Linked DNA regions of Homo sapiens: all the other regions are linked to region 5. The links are contacts of gene promoters, found by promoter capture Hi-C in blood cells and fetal thymus (Javierre and others, 2016). All regions are on one chromosome and are shown on one strand. Each heading gives the region's core, a stretch centred on a gene start or on the middle of the fragment in contact. The rest is flanking DNA. Distances are from core to core; before and after follow the strand shown.

Evidence for each region. Contacts are between HindIII fragments. The CHiCAGO score rates a contact against its expected background, and 5 or more counts as called.
Region 1: a contact is called between a fragment that was not itself captured here and the fragment with the promoter of TTLL3 in region 5, in 12 of 17 cell types (monocytes, megakaryocytes, erythroblasts and 9 more). The highest score is 10.5, in monocytes.
Region 2: a contact is called between a fragment that was not itself captured here and the fragment with the promoter of TTLL3 in region 5, in 13 of 17 cell types (erythroblasts, monocytes, megakaryocytes and 10 more). The highest score is 11.9, in erythroblasts.
Region 3: a fragment that was not itself captured here is called in contact with the fragment with the promoter of TTLL3 in region 5 in 1 of 17 cell types (neutrophils); the score reaches 5.4 in neutrophils.
Region 4: a contact is called between a fragment that was not itself captured here and the fragment with the promoter of TTLL3 in region 5, in 4 of 17 cell types (erythroblasts, activated CD4 T cells, neutrophils and 1 more). The highest score is 6.2, in erythroblasts.

The regions. Positions count from the first base shown.
Region 1 is chr3:9,969,614-9,972,313 of GRCh38, forward strand. It overlaps EMC3 (ER membrane protein complex subunit 3), which reads right to left. Exons shown (of 8, transcript NM_001394674.1): 6 at 969-1,048; 7 at 106-188. Among named protein-coding and RNA genes, the nearest start is that of EMC3, 16 kb to the right of the region's middle. The HindIII fragment of the contact is 1,344 bases long and covers 683-2,026 here.
Region 2 is chr3:10,031,152-10,033,851 of GRCh38, forward strand. It overlaps FANCD2 (FA complementation group D2), which reads left to right. Exons shown (of 44, transcript NM_001018115.3): 3 at 1,681-1,821. Among named protein-coding and RNA genes, the nearest start is that of FANCD2, 6.1 kb to the left of the region's middle. The HindIII fragment of the contact is 752 bases long and covers 1,013-1,764 here.
Region 3 is chr3:9,679,115-9,681,814 of GRCh38, forward strand. The region is part of intron 9 of MTMR14 (myotubularin related protein 14); the gene reads left to right. Among named protein-coding and RNA genes, the nearest start is that of CPNE9, 23 kb to the right of the region's middle. The HindIII fragment of the contact is 4,297 bases long and covers 1-2,700 here.
Region 4 is chr3:9,990,064-9,992,763 of GRCh38, forward strand. The region is part of intron 2 of EMC3-AS1 (EMC3 antisense RNA 1); the gene reads left to right. It also overlaps a transcript of EMC3 not described here. Among named protein-coding and RNA genes, the nearest start is that of EMC3-AS1, 4.5 kb to the left of the region's middle. The HindIII fragment of the contact is 3,447 bases long and covers 1-2,700 here.
Region 5 is chr3:9,808,836-9,811,584 of GRCh38, forward strand. It overlaps TTLL3 (tubulin tyrosine ligase like 3), which reads left to right and starts at 1,427. Exons shown (of 14, transcript NM_001387446.1): 1 at 1,427-1,559; 2 at 1,786-1,874. The coding sequence starts at 1,827. All of the region lies in intron 4 of ARPC4-TTLL3 (ARPC4-TTLL3 readthrough), which reads left to right. RefSeq lists an enhancer at 499-648 and a silencer at 1,129-1,608. The HindIII fragment of the contact is 3,571 bases long and covers 1-2,749 here.

The DNA.
Region 1 (2,700 bases), core at 105-2,604, 160 kb after region 5:
ACGATGGAACCACACAACACTCCCTTCAAGGAAGCTATTTTTAAAATAGCTCTTGGTAACACCTTTCAGAGCATTGCTGCAGCTTTGAAAGGTGAAGGAGTATACCTTGAAAGCTTTGTTTGTGTCTGCGGGCATGGCCATGGCTGCTCCCGTCATCTGCTCCTGCATCATTCGTGATTGGTCAGCGGCTGTAGCATAAGACACACTTACATGAGTGCCAGGACTCAGCAAGCACCCCAGCACCCAAGGGGAAGAATGGGCTTCACACAGATTAGAGAACTGGACTACAGCCTCACTGGCTGGCCCTGTCACCCACTGGCTATGTGACTCTAGGAAAGTCACTTTGTGTCTCCTGAAAAATGGGGACAGTAACAGCAAAAGAGAGATCACTAAAGGAAGCTCTAAACTTTATTTCAAATTTCAACAATAACAGCCACCAGTTATTGAGCAACTACTGCATGCCAAGTACTTCACTAAGTGCTTTGCATATTTTTCCTCATCTGTTCCTAACAACCCCACAGGTTAACTAATAAAGTCCTTATTTACAGATAAGTAAATAGAGAATTCGAAGTTAAGTAACTTGTTAAGTAACTTTTCTGAGGTCCCAGCCAGTAAACAAGAGAGCAAGGATTAGTACTGGCAAGGGCTCTAGTCAATGAACTGACAAACCAAGCCTTCTTTAAGCTTTAGGTTCACAGGCTTACACTGCTGGTGCTGGATCCCTCACATGATGGTATCAGACTCTGGGGAATCAAAATACTGTCCCAGTCATTGCCAGAGAGAATTGAGATCTTCAGTTTGACCCCCGGAATTTTTAAGACTCTTTCAGAATACCTCAGAAACTTAAGGAAGGAAACATTTTATTTGACTATGGTAACAAACAGCACAACCTACAAGACTTTTCTGGCTCTAATATGGATGATTCATCTATGGAAGTATTTGCTTAGTAAACCTGACATGCTTCTTACCATTATCTTGGCCCAGAATCAGAGAGTAAATGCTCCGAAGCCCAAATACATTGAGGAAGTACCAGGATGCAGAACTCACCCTGGCAAAGCAAAATGAAAATGGTGTGGTTAGTTATTATATCAGAGAGTAATGCAGTTCCCACTTCCCTACCACCCAAAGTTGTTCAGTGTTTGTAAAGAAGTCACCTTGGATGGGCTATATTCATCCAAAGCACAACCACAGAAGAAATACAAGTTGTTAAAGCAGTCTCACCAATACAGAACTATATTTCAAAAAATCCAAAGGTGACTCCCATTCTGAATTCCATTCCCTAGAGGAAATCACAAGTGTTGGTGTGTTCCATACTTTTTTTTTTTTTGAGACGGAGTCTCACCCTGTTACCCAGGCTGGAGTGCAGTGGCGCAATCTTGGCTCACTGCAACCTCTGCCACCTGGGTTCAAGAGATTCTCCTGCCTCAACCTCCTGAGTAGCTGGGACTACAGGCACACACCACCATGCCTGGCTAATTTTTATATTTTTATTAGAGATGGGGTCTCACCATGTTGGCCAAGCTGGTCTCGAACTCCTGACCTCAAGTGATCCGCCCACCTCAGCCTCCCAAAGTGCTGGGATTACAGGCGTGAGCCACTGGGTGTGTTCCATACTTACAAGAAGGGATGAGACATGGATTTCAGGAAATACAGTACCGAGGACTATAGCTACTGGGAGAGCCATTCCAAGTTTTGAACTATATCACTGAGGCTTCCTTTAGCTTAGGTTTCCTACTCAACCTCCATAAAATAAATATGCTTGCATATAATAAAAACTAAAAACAAAAATGCATATGGGAAGTGATAGATAAATGGAAAGATCCACACTCATTCCAACAAGTGGGTCACATAAGGGCAAGAGTCTATTCTGGTTACTCCATAGGCTGCAGGTAAGTAAATGGCCTGTCTGAATACAATGTTGCTGATCTCACCACAGTGGTAATTGTACACTCAGGTTCCAGTCTCGCGTCTGTCCATGACTGCATTTCAGTCACATGCCTCTCTGGATGCTGAGAAAAGATAAATAAGCTTTTCTCCAACCCATGAAGTTTTTGTTTAGCCCAATGAGACTGAAGGTAAAAGTAGAATAGACTCATGCTACTCATATAATGTACAGCTTTTCTTCTCTAGCAGAACTGTGCATGGCCCAGCCTTCCCAGCCTCTGGCCTTTCCTGCTCCTCCCACACATCCTAGAGGGCTCTGCTCAAACCAAGTAGTCAAGATTACCACTAGTAATCCCCATTTTGTCCATTTTTCTTTTCCTCTTGTTTATGCCAGTCTTTGGGAAGCCACAGGCAAGAGTCTGGAGAGGCTACATGAAGCAGCATTACTAGGTTCCAGATATTGTAGCAGTATTTTCTAAGAGCTTTTCAGATTTTAATTTTTCTTATTCTGCCATTCAAAAAAAAATAGTGGTATTCAGAAGGAGAAATCTCTTTTAAAAAATTATAAAGAGTGGTAAGTAACACATGGGTGCTGGATTTGAACAGACCTTGTCATCAAATGTCAATTCCTACACAGGTTTCATAGGTTGCTATGAGGGTAAAATATGGAAAACGCTAAGCCCAGTGACTAGAACTAATGAAAACTATTATCATTAGTAGTAATGTACTTTGGAAAAAAAAAAATACAAACTTCCACTCCCATAAGCTCAAGGGTATTACTAAAAATGATTGCCTGGCCAGAATTCCTGGCTTAAA
Region 2 (2,700 bases), core at 139-2,638, 220 kb after region 5:
ACATTTCATTCAGGAAGGTAGTGGTCTTTGTCTCATTCTGATTAAGGCTTTATTAGAAAGAGGGAAAGGAGGCCAGGCACGGTGGCTCACGCCTGTAATCCCAGCACTTTGGGTGGCCAAGGCGGGCAGATCACGAGGTCAGGAGATTGAGACCATCTTGGCTAACATGGTGAAACCCCGTCTCTACTAAAAATACAAAAAATTAGCCGGGCGTGGTGGTGTGCACCTGTAGTCCCAGCTACTGGGAGGCTGAGGCAGGAGAATGGCATGAACCCGGGAGGCGGAGCTTGCAGTGAGCCAAGATCGCGCCACTGCACTCCAGCCTGGGCGACAGAGCAAGACTCCATTTCAAAAAAAAAAAAAAAAGAAAGAGGGAGAGGAATTGAAGAAGGAAAAAACAAAATGGCATCATTAAGGGAGAAGAGTAAATTTTAAACTTGGCTTCAAGTACCTGTTTGTTTCTTGTTTCTTATTTCTTTTTATGGGTTGAAAGTCTTGGGATTAAACCTATCTGAGCATTGTAGTCAAAGATATGATACAAAGAACCTTCCCCATTCTGTCTACCCTTTATTCAGATCATTGAGTCTCAAATTTGGTGTGTATCAGGATTATTATCTGAAGAACATAAAAAATTCGGATTCCTAGGTCCCATTCCCAAGATTTTGACTCAGTAACTCTGGTATATGGCATGGAATATGCCTTTTTTTTCCTTTGAGACAGAGTGTCACTCTGTTGCTCAGGCAGGAGTGAAGTGGCGCGATCTGGGCTCACTGCAACCTCTGCCTCCCGGGTTCAAGTGATTCTCCTCCTCAGCCTCCCGAGTAGTTGGTATTACAGGCGCACGCCACCACACCCAGTTAATTTTGTATTTTTAGTAGAGATGGGGTTTCACCACGTTAGCCAGGCTGGTCTTGAACTCCTGACCTCAGGTAATCAGCCTGCCTCGGCCTCCCAAAGTGCTGGGATTACAGGCGTGAGCCACTGTGCTGGGTCGGAAATATGCATTTTAATAAGCTTCCCAGGGATTCCAGTACAGTGGTTTGCAGGCAACAGCTTGAGAGACACTGGCTAGTTTAGTATTTGGGTGGAAAACATTTCTGTGGGTTATTCTTGTTAGGCACTTATTTGTTTGAATTTATTTTTTTAGAGATGGGGATTTCACTCTGTCACCCAGGCTGGAGTGCAGTGGTAATATCATAGCTCACTATAGCCTCAACCTCCTGGGCTCAAGTTATTCTTCCGCCTTAGCCTCCGAAGTAGCTGGGACTACAGGTGTGCGTCTCCTCACCTAACTAGTTTGTGTGTGGAGGGGGGGAATGGGGGTGAAGGGGGGGAGATGGGGGGGTGGTCTCACTTTGTTGCCCAGGCTGGTCTTGAACTCCTGGCTTCAAGTGATCCTCCTGCCTTGGCCTCCTAATTTGCTGGGATTACCACATGAGCCACCTTGCCTGGCCAGAAATGGCACATTTTGAATTCTTCAAATGAAAATAGGTGAAAATAATTCTATTTGTTTGTTTTGGAAGCCACTATTGCTGAAGACAGTTTATTTCACTACAGCATCAATCCTAGTATAATTTTTAAGGACACATCAGTTTTCCTCTCATGATTATTATTCCTGGGTTTAAGTTTTAATTTTTCCTTTACTATTTGCCATATTCTTGAAAATTTTTCTATTTTCAGAAACCAGGAAGCAACCACTTTCCAAAAAGACAAAGAAATCTCATATTGCTAATGAAGTTGAAGAAAATGACAGCATCTTTGTAAAGCTTCTTAAGATATCAGGAATTATTCTTAAAACGGGAGAGAGTCAGAATCAACTAGGTAATATTTTAATCTAATTTTATTCTCTGGGTTTAATGAAATAGTTCAGGACTGAATCATGGGTTTTCTAAATAGAGAGGCAATGAAGATTAGAAATCAGAGGGCCATCCATCTTGAGACAAAGTTGAAATTGCTTTTTAGAAAATGGTACAGTCAGGCCGGGCGCGGTGGCTCACGTTTATCATCCCAGCACTTTGGGAGGCTCGAGGCAGGCGGATTGCCTGAGCTCAGGAATTTGCGACCGGCCTGGGCAACACGTCTCTACTAAAATATAAAAAATTAGCCGGGCATGGTGGCATGTGCCTGTAGTCCCAGCTGCTTGGGCGCCTGAGTCAGGAGAATTGCTTGAACCCGGGAGGTGAAAGTTGCAGTGAGTCAAGATCGCACCACTGCACTCCAGCCTGGGCGACAAGAGTGAGACTCCATTTCCAAAAAACAAAAATGGAAAAAGAAAATGGTACAGTCTTTGGTCCTCATTACTATGTCTTAAGTAAAGCATTTCTCATCCTTTTATTAGAAAAAATATTATATATTATTTATTTTGTGTTTTCTTATGAAAAAATAAATATCCAGAAAGCAGCTGTATCAGTGTCAGAATAATTTCAGAAGAAAATTTATAAAGCCATATAAGATTCTGTTTTGGGGGAGCAGATTATTCTATCTTGCTAAGGTTATGGCAGGTCTTTTTTAGAACACTTAGTGGCTATCTGCTATCAAAGCTAAGTCTTTTTTTTTTTTTTTTTTTTGAGACGGAGTCTTGCTCTGTCGCCCAGGCTGGAGTGCAGTGGCGCGATCTCTGCTCACTGCAAGCTCCACCTCCCAGGTTCACACCATTCTGCCTCAGCTTCCCAAGTAGCTGGGACTACAGGCGCCCGCCAC
Region 3 (2,700 bases), core at 49-2,548, 130 kb before region 5:
CTTGTTTTCTCTATATATATCCAGACCCTAATCACAAGGTTTATGCTCACAGCAACTGTTTGAGTGTATGAAGTAGGGTGATGTCAGAGTTCCCCAATGCAGGTGTTTGCAAGAGAGGGAGCACTGGGGAGGAAAGCAGACCAGTTGTTTGTTATGGTCTGGAAGCCTGGAGAAGGAACAGGTTTGGGGTACCTGTGCTGTGGTCTCATGTCCCAGGCTGTGCCTAGACAGACTGAGTAGATAAAAGAACCGGCAGGCTTCCTTCTTTATGTGCTGCATGCAGAGGTCAAGTAGACTCTGCCCCAAGCCACCCTCTTTCTGGTCCCTTCCGGCACCATTTTTTCTCCTTATGCAGGTACAAACTGGATCTGATGAACTACTCAGCAAATGAGATGTGACAGTTCCAGGCACTGGTCCCAAGGATGTTTGCCTCTTTAGGAAGGGGTCCTGTGCGTGTGAGGAGGTACTCTGCTTAGTAGATGCAGGCCCTAGATCTAGGTCCCAGCTTGCCTGGCCCTTCCTGCAAGGCTCTGTGGCCTTGAACAGATGACCTCACTTCCCCCTGAAAATGGTGTTGGCAGTACCTATTTCAGAGTTGTGCCAGGCTCAAATATGATCACTGCTTGAAAGGGACTCCTGAACTGAAATACCAGACAGATTGTAATGATAATTATGAAGAGGCTGCTAGCTAGCTAATTCAGGGAAGTGAACACTGAAACTTCCAGGCGTGAAGGCAGCAGGGCTGGAGTGTAGCAGGCAGGCAGGCGCCTCCCAAGAGGCCACCTCTTCAGTGTTGCTCAACCTGTTTTGTCTCACTGGGGCTCCTAGCATGCTCTTCCTTGGCTGGGTGTGGGCTCTGCCTTTTCTGCCCGCAAAGCCCTGGGGTGCCGGTACCCTGTTCCTTTTCACCATCTCCCCAGGTGATCTCATCCATCGTCCACACCATGAGCCCACAGCCAGGCCTCTCTGATCCATACCTGCATCACCTTTCACACATGTCCCTTCAGGCGGCCCCTCAGACTCAAGCTGTCCAGAGTAGAGTTGGCCATGGCCCACCATTTACCCAGATGCTCACACCTGAAACTCGAGTTCTTTGCTCCCACCACATCCATCACCAGCTCCCATCGGTTCTCTAGTCTCTGCCCCTAGTGCAACTGCAATCCTTCTTGCCCTCGTCTCCTGTGCAGTGCCTAGCTCAGGCCACCACTGTCTCAGTGCATCTCACAGCTGAACCTGGGGCCTCACTGAGGAGTAACTAGAAATGAAGTGCTCAGATAGCAAGCACTGAAATGATAGAGCAGGGCCATCACTGTCACCCCTGCCTTAAAACCTACCACTGACTTCCCATTTTCCTCAGAATACAATGCAAGAACTTGTACATGGCCTACCCAGCTCCATGCAGTCTGGTCTTGCCTGTTCTTGTGACCAGCTGATCTTCCTGCAGCCCATGGCCGGGCACGGTGGCTCATGCCTGTAATCCCAGCACTTTAGGAGGCCAAGGCGGGCAGATCACGAGGGCAGGAGATCGAGACCATCGTGGCTAACACAGTGAAACCCAATCTCTACTAAAAAATTAGCCGGGCGTGGTGGCGGGCGCCTGTAGTGCCAGCTACTCGGGAGACTGAGGCAGGAGAATGGCGTGAACCCGGGAGGCGGAGCTTGCGGTGAGCTGAGATCGCGCCACTACACTCCAGCCTGGGCGACAGAGCGAGACTCCGTCTCAAAAAAACAAACAAACAAACAAACAAAAGAAGGCAGCCCTCTCCAGGTTCGCACGTGCTGTTTTCTCTGCCAGAAACACGTGTCTCCTTTCTCTGTTGCTTATGCTGTCTCATGTCATCACCTCTGAGAAGCCTTCTCTGATGTCCCTACAGATCAGGCTTGGCTCTCCAGTCATATGGTTACACAGCATCCTAGAGGTCCCCTTTTAGTTGCACACCTGCAGTGGTTAACTTTGTCTTCCCTCTCCCGTGACTCCATGATTGTTGAGGTCATATTCACCCTTGTGTGCCTGGTGCCAGGCCCTTCAGGAGGCATGCAGTGTGAGGCTTACTGAATGAATGAATGAGTGAATGAATGAATGATAGGAGCAGTTGTGGCAGGACACATGTGTCTTGCTGCCCTCCATGTAACCGAATTGAATTCCGTAGAGGTATGCCCCTTCTTTCTGTGTCCTAAGACCCCTCCCTGGGGCTGCTGTCCCTCAGGCACTCAGCATTGCCCCAGCTATGAAGAAGCAGCAAGGAACATTCTGCAATGACCTCCTAGTCCCTGAACACTAAGCCTTAGAGATGCCAAAACAGCCTCTGCCCTCATGGGGATTAGACTAGGAAAAGAGGCAACAACGTAACCATCACCTACATTACAGTTTTTACCAGTGGTCACAGAAACCCCAAAGAGAAGATAATTGGTCTGGGCCTTTGAAGGATGAGTAGGAGTTTACCAACCAGCAGAAAGAGTACTCTAGGCATAGAAACATAAGCAGAGGCATGGCATTTAGCTCAGCTCCCAGAGACTTTTTCATGAAGCACGTAGGATGAGAGAGTCAGGCACGAGCCTTGTTTGTTTGTTTGTTTGTTTGTTTTTTAGCATATCTCCTCGGTCATCACTTTGAGCAGTTCCCTCAGACTTCTGCTTCTTACTCTGGTGTTATAGGAAGAGTACCTACAGTGATTAAGAATGTGGACTTTGGAGTCTGGC
Region 4 (2,700 bases), core at 15-2,514, 180 kb after region 5:
AGGCTGGAGTGCAGGCAGTGGCGCAATCTCAGCTCACTGCAAGCTCCACCTCCTGGGTTCATGCCATTCTTCTACCTCAGCCTCCCGAGTAGCTGGGACTACAGGCGCCTGCCACCACGCCCGGCTAATTTTTTGTATTTTTAGTAGAGATGGGGTTTCACGTTGTTAGCCAGGATGGTCTGGATCTCCTGACCTTATGATCCACCTCAGCCTCCCAAAGTCCTGGGATTACAGGTGTGAGCCACCGTGCCGGGCCTTTCTCTTTTTTTTTTTTTTTTTTTTTTTTTAAGAGACTAAGTCTTGCTCTGTCACCGAAGGTGGAGTGCGGTGACAGCATCATAGTTCATTGCAGTCTCAAACACCCGGGTTCAAGCGATCCCCCCACCTCAGTCTTTGGAGTAGCTGGGACTACAGGCAAGCACCACCAGGCCTGGCTAATTCTGTTAGTTAGTTAGTTAGTTATTTTGAGAGAGTTTCGCTCTTTTGCCTAGGCTATAGTGAAGTGCCACAATCTCGGTTCACTGCAACCTCTGGCCCCTGGGTTGAAGCAAATCTCCTGCCTCAGCCTCCCTAGTAGCTGGGATTATAGGTGCCTGCCACCATGCCTGGCTAATTTTTGTATTTTTAGCAGAGATGGGATTTCACCATATTGGCCAGGCTAGTCTCAAACTCCTGACTCAGGTGATCCACCCACCTGCCTCAGCCTCCCAAAGTGCTAGGATTACAGGTGTGAGCCACCACGCCTGGCCAATTCTTTTATTTATTTATTTATTTATTTATTTTTTGAGACGGAGTCTCGCTGTCGCCCAGGCTGTAGTGCAGTGGCACGATCTCGGCTCACTGCAAGCTCCGCCTCCCGGGTTCACGCCATTCTCCTGCCTCGGCCTCCTGAGTAGTTGGGACTATAGGCGCCCACCACCTCGCCTGGCTAATTTTTTGTATTTTTAGTAGAGACGGGGTTTCACCATGTTAGCCAGGATGGTCTCGATCTCCTGACCTCGTGATCTGCCCGCCTTGGCCTCCCAAAGTGCTGGGATTACAGGTGTGAGCCACCGCGCCCGGCCATTCTTTTATTTTTTATAGAGATGAGGTCTTGCTGTGTTTCCCAGGCTGGTCTCAAATTTTTAGCTTCAAGTGATCCTCCTGCTTGGGCCTCCCAAAGTGCTGGGATTATAGGCATGAGCCACTGCACCCAGCCCTCATATTTTTCTTTTTTAAACTTAGGTAAACAAGCTAATTGTGGAGAAAAATCCACAAGGAATCTACAGATGTAAAAAATACAGTTTTTCTCTGCTCTCTTTCCCATTCCTCAGGGGTAATCATCCTTCCAAATTTTTTCTCTTCATATACAAGCTGTAATTGTGTGCAAGTACAGGTATACTCTTATGCCTACACATATATATGTTTATATATTGTTTTTACAAAAGCAGAATCTTAACTATGATTATGGGTGGTGGTGGTGGTGTTTAAAGAGACAGGGTCTCACTCTGTCGCCAGGCTGGAGTGCAGTGGCACAATCGTAGCTCACTGTTGCCTCCACCTCCTGGGCTCAATGATCCTCCCTCCTCAGCCTCCCAAAGCAGTGGGATTATAGGCATGAGCCTTCATGCCCAGCCTGATTATCCTTTTGCAGGCTGCTGTTTTTTCCACTTCATATCAGGAATGTCTTTCCTCTGTCAAAAAATAGAGTATGGCTCAGCAGTCCCTAACCTTTTTGGCACCAGGGACTGGTTTCATGGAAGACAGTTTTTCCACAGACCGTTTCGGGGCATGATTTCAGGATGAAACTGTTCAACTTTAGATCATCAGGCACTACTTAGATTCTCATAAGGAATGTGCAGCCTAGATCCTGCGCATGTGCAGTTCACAATGGGGTTTGCGCTCCCGTGAGAATCTAATGCAGCCGCTAATCTGACAGGAGGCGGATCTCAGTGGTAATGACCACTTGACCACCCCTCACCTCCTGCTGTGCAGCTTGGTTCCTAGCAGACCACAGACTCCGTGATCCAGGAGTTGGGGACCCCTGATCTACCTTTTTCTTTTTTTTTTAAATTTTGTAATTAAAAAGTCTTTTTTAGACAGAGTCTCGCTGTGTCACCCAGGCTGGAGTGCAGTGGCACAATCTCGGCTCATTGCAACCTGCACCTCCCGGGTTCGAGTCGTTGACCTGCCTCAGCCTCCTGAGTAGCTGGGATTGCAGGCAGTTGCCACCACGACTGGCCAATTTTTTTTTGTATTTTTTAGTAGAAATGGGGTTTCACCGTGTTGGCCAGGCTGGTCTCGAACTCCTAACCTCAGGTGATATGTGTACCTCAGCCTCCCAAAGTACTGGGATTACAGGTGTGAGCCCCCACGCCCAGCCTGGCTTATCCTTTTTGATGACTATAATATTTCAAAAATTAAAATTACTCCATCATAATTTACTGAACCCTTTCCAGATTGATGGGCATTTATAGTCTTTCCAACTTTTCACAAAGTAATTTTTCTAGTAATAGTGAAAATACATACTGGAGTTGGCAAGTGATTGAATCTTTTAATAAATGTGAAGATGTTCAAAGTTACTTCTGTAGTAGTATCACTTTAATGTATATTGGAATGTATTCCTAAGAGATACCAGTGGTTAATAGTTGTGGCACTTTATTTCTTTAAAAAATATTTCTGGGTTTTGTGAAAAGTGTAGATACTACCAGGGGAGTGTGT
Region 5 (2,749 bases), core at 177-2,676:
AGTGACTGACAAAGCTGGGCTCTTACCAGGACACTCTTCGACTCTGCCTGCGGGGGCACTGCTAGAGTTTGCCTCTCAAACTGTCCCTGTGTGGTCCTTCTGTGACTGGCAGGCAACCTGAGTGATAACAGGTGTTTAAGAGACAGGCTTTGGAGTCAGACCTGGGTTCCAGTGCTGCCTCTGCTCTGTGATTTGAGGCAAATTGTTTAACATCTTGGAGCCTTACCTCCCCTGTGACTTTTGAGGATAATATTTTGCCAGTGCTTCCAAAAAGGTTGCTTACAGTCTTAGCCTGGGGGCCAGGCATAACTGTTGTGAACTATTACATTTCTTTCGCAGTTGACTCAAATGATTGTTTTTCCATTTCCAGTTTCTGGGGAGGGTGTGCTCTGCACCTTCTTGTTACCCCCATATGCTGCCCTCGCTAAGGACCTTACCCTAGGCCCATCTGCCAGGCCCAGCAGGTCTGATCTGGCCTCACCAGGCTCCAGCCACCCTGGCTGTCTTGTAGTTCGCACAGAGGTTCTTACCCTTCTCAGGGCTGTTGCTGGGACTGTCCCTTCCCTGAAGTGCAGTTCCTCCCCTTTCCCTGGTGACTCCTGACTCCTGGCATTTACACCTTCAGCTTAAATGCGCCACTTTATCTAAAATGCGCCCCCTTCCTGGTTTCACCTCTGCTTGTTCATTGCCCTTATTATACCTGTAAACTATTCTCTTCCTTTGTTACTTGCTTTTTATTCCCCTCACACTGGGCTTTTAGTAAGCTCCATGAGGTCAGGGGCCATTTGTTAGCGCCTATAAATACTGTGGAATCACTCAAACCCTAGGGCCGGTGGCACCAGGAAGTACTGGATAAGGAACCGCAACACTAACTAACTGGGGCTCAGTGCTCTCTTCCGCCTTCAGTGCCCTGCTCATCAAGGGTCTGGGTGAGGCCCCAGGTCATAAGGAAGCCCTCGCTCGACTGCCCCGGGGCCCATCGCAGCCCCCAACCAGCCCCGAGCGGTCTGATGGTGCCCAGGGAATGGTTTCCAAGGCAATAGCAAACGGGGCGGGGCTTGGAACGGAGGACAAGGCTCGAGCCTAGGCAGGAACTTCCCGGGAGAGGAGGCGGCGACGCGGAGGGGCGCGGGATCAGGGGCCCTGGGAGGGCGAGCGCGGCGAGGGGCGCATGCAGGGCCCCGACGCGCCACTGCTCCTGAGCGCGAGGGAGCTGGGGCCCGGGCGCCGGGGCTCGGCCTCCTGGTACCGCCAGGAGGGCGGCGCGGTGTGCAACTGGCTGCGGAAGCCGCAGCCGCTCGAGCCACGCACCAGTTTCCCCTCGGCGCGCCGCTCCGAGTTCCGTCCACCCAGGAGGCTGCCATGGGCCGGCCCTGCCTCCGCCCAGTCCGAGGAGGGTCACGCAGGCGGCAGATGCCAGGCGGGCAGCCCCGCCCCTGCGCGCCGCCTCAGCGGCGCCTTCAAGACGCTGGTCCCAGGCACCCACGCCCAGGGCGCCTCGGATACCCACCCCCTCGGCCCCCCGCACACCCCGGTCCTCGACCCCTCTCCGCAGGATGGTGAGGCCCGTGCGGCCCGCTCGCTCTGGCCTACAGCGGCTGCGAGGACGACAAGACGCTGGGGTGGAGGGACTGGGGGTCGGGAGAAGAGCGGCTGAGGGTGGGCATCTGGATGAAGGCAGGAGGAAGAAAAGAGGCGTGGCTATGGGCGGCCAGAAAAGATCCTAGGCCGAGACCCTAGGCCCAGCCTCAGTGTACCCCGCCCCTATTCCGCATCTTTCTGCAGGTTTCCCGGTCCTCTGGCGAGGATCCTCCAAGGCGTCTCACATGAACCGGCTCAGAAACGCCAAAATCTACGTGGAGAGAGCTGTCAAGGTCAGAGGAGGGGCAGGGGCGCTTAGAAAGGGCCCTGGGAGCGGCTCAGCCTGTCTCCCTGCGCTGTTTTCTTATATCCTTAAAAAACAAAAGCAAAAGAAAAAACAATAGCAAAAATCCTCAACCACCACACCCATCTTCAACTACCTCCCCGTTTACCCCTTCAGCACCAAACTTCTGGGCTCCCTCCACTCTGGTTCCCTGCGATGTCCCACTCTAATCAAGGTGCCTGGTGAGTTCCAGGGAGCCAAACCCAGCAGTGCCTTTCGGTCTTGATCTCGGTTGGGCACCCTGTATCTTTCGACACCGCTGCCCCACACACCCTTCCTCTTGGCTGTCTGACTGCACGCTCCTAGTTTTCCTTTCTCCCTCTTTGGCTGCTGCTTTTCAGCGGCCTTTAAAGGTTCCTCAGCCATTAGTGGCCCCCTGGCCCCTTCCCCAGGTCTGTCTCCTTTGGCTGTGTCCTTGGCTGAGTCCAGTCAGTGTGCTGCACCCTCTCCGTGCCCCTTCCAGCCCAGCCTCGAACTCCACATCCCGTAGATCTAGCCCCTACCTGTCATCTACACCCAGAAAACTTAACAAGCATTTCAAATTCATGTCCCAAACCAGACTTTGATCTTCCTGCCCAAACCTGTCGTCCTCCCCAGTCTCCAGTCTTTCCCATCTCTCAGTTCCTCACGCCAGAAATCTCATCTTTCTGTTTCTTCACCCACAGGTCTAATTCCATCAGCAAAACCACTTGTCATCTCCACCTCCAAAACGATTCTCAACTCTAGCACCTTCTCCCGTCTGTGTTGTAACCACCTTCATTTTAGTAATTGTGATTTCTCTCCTAGGCAAACTATGACAGCCTCCTAGCTGGTCTACCTCCATCC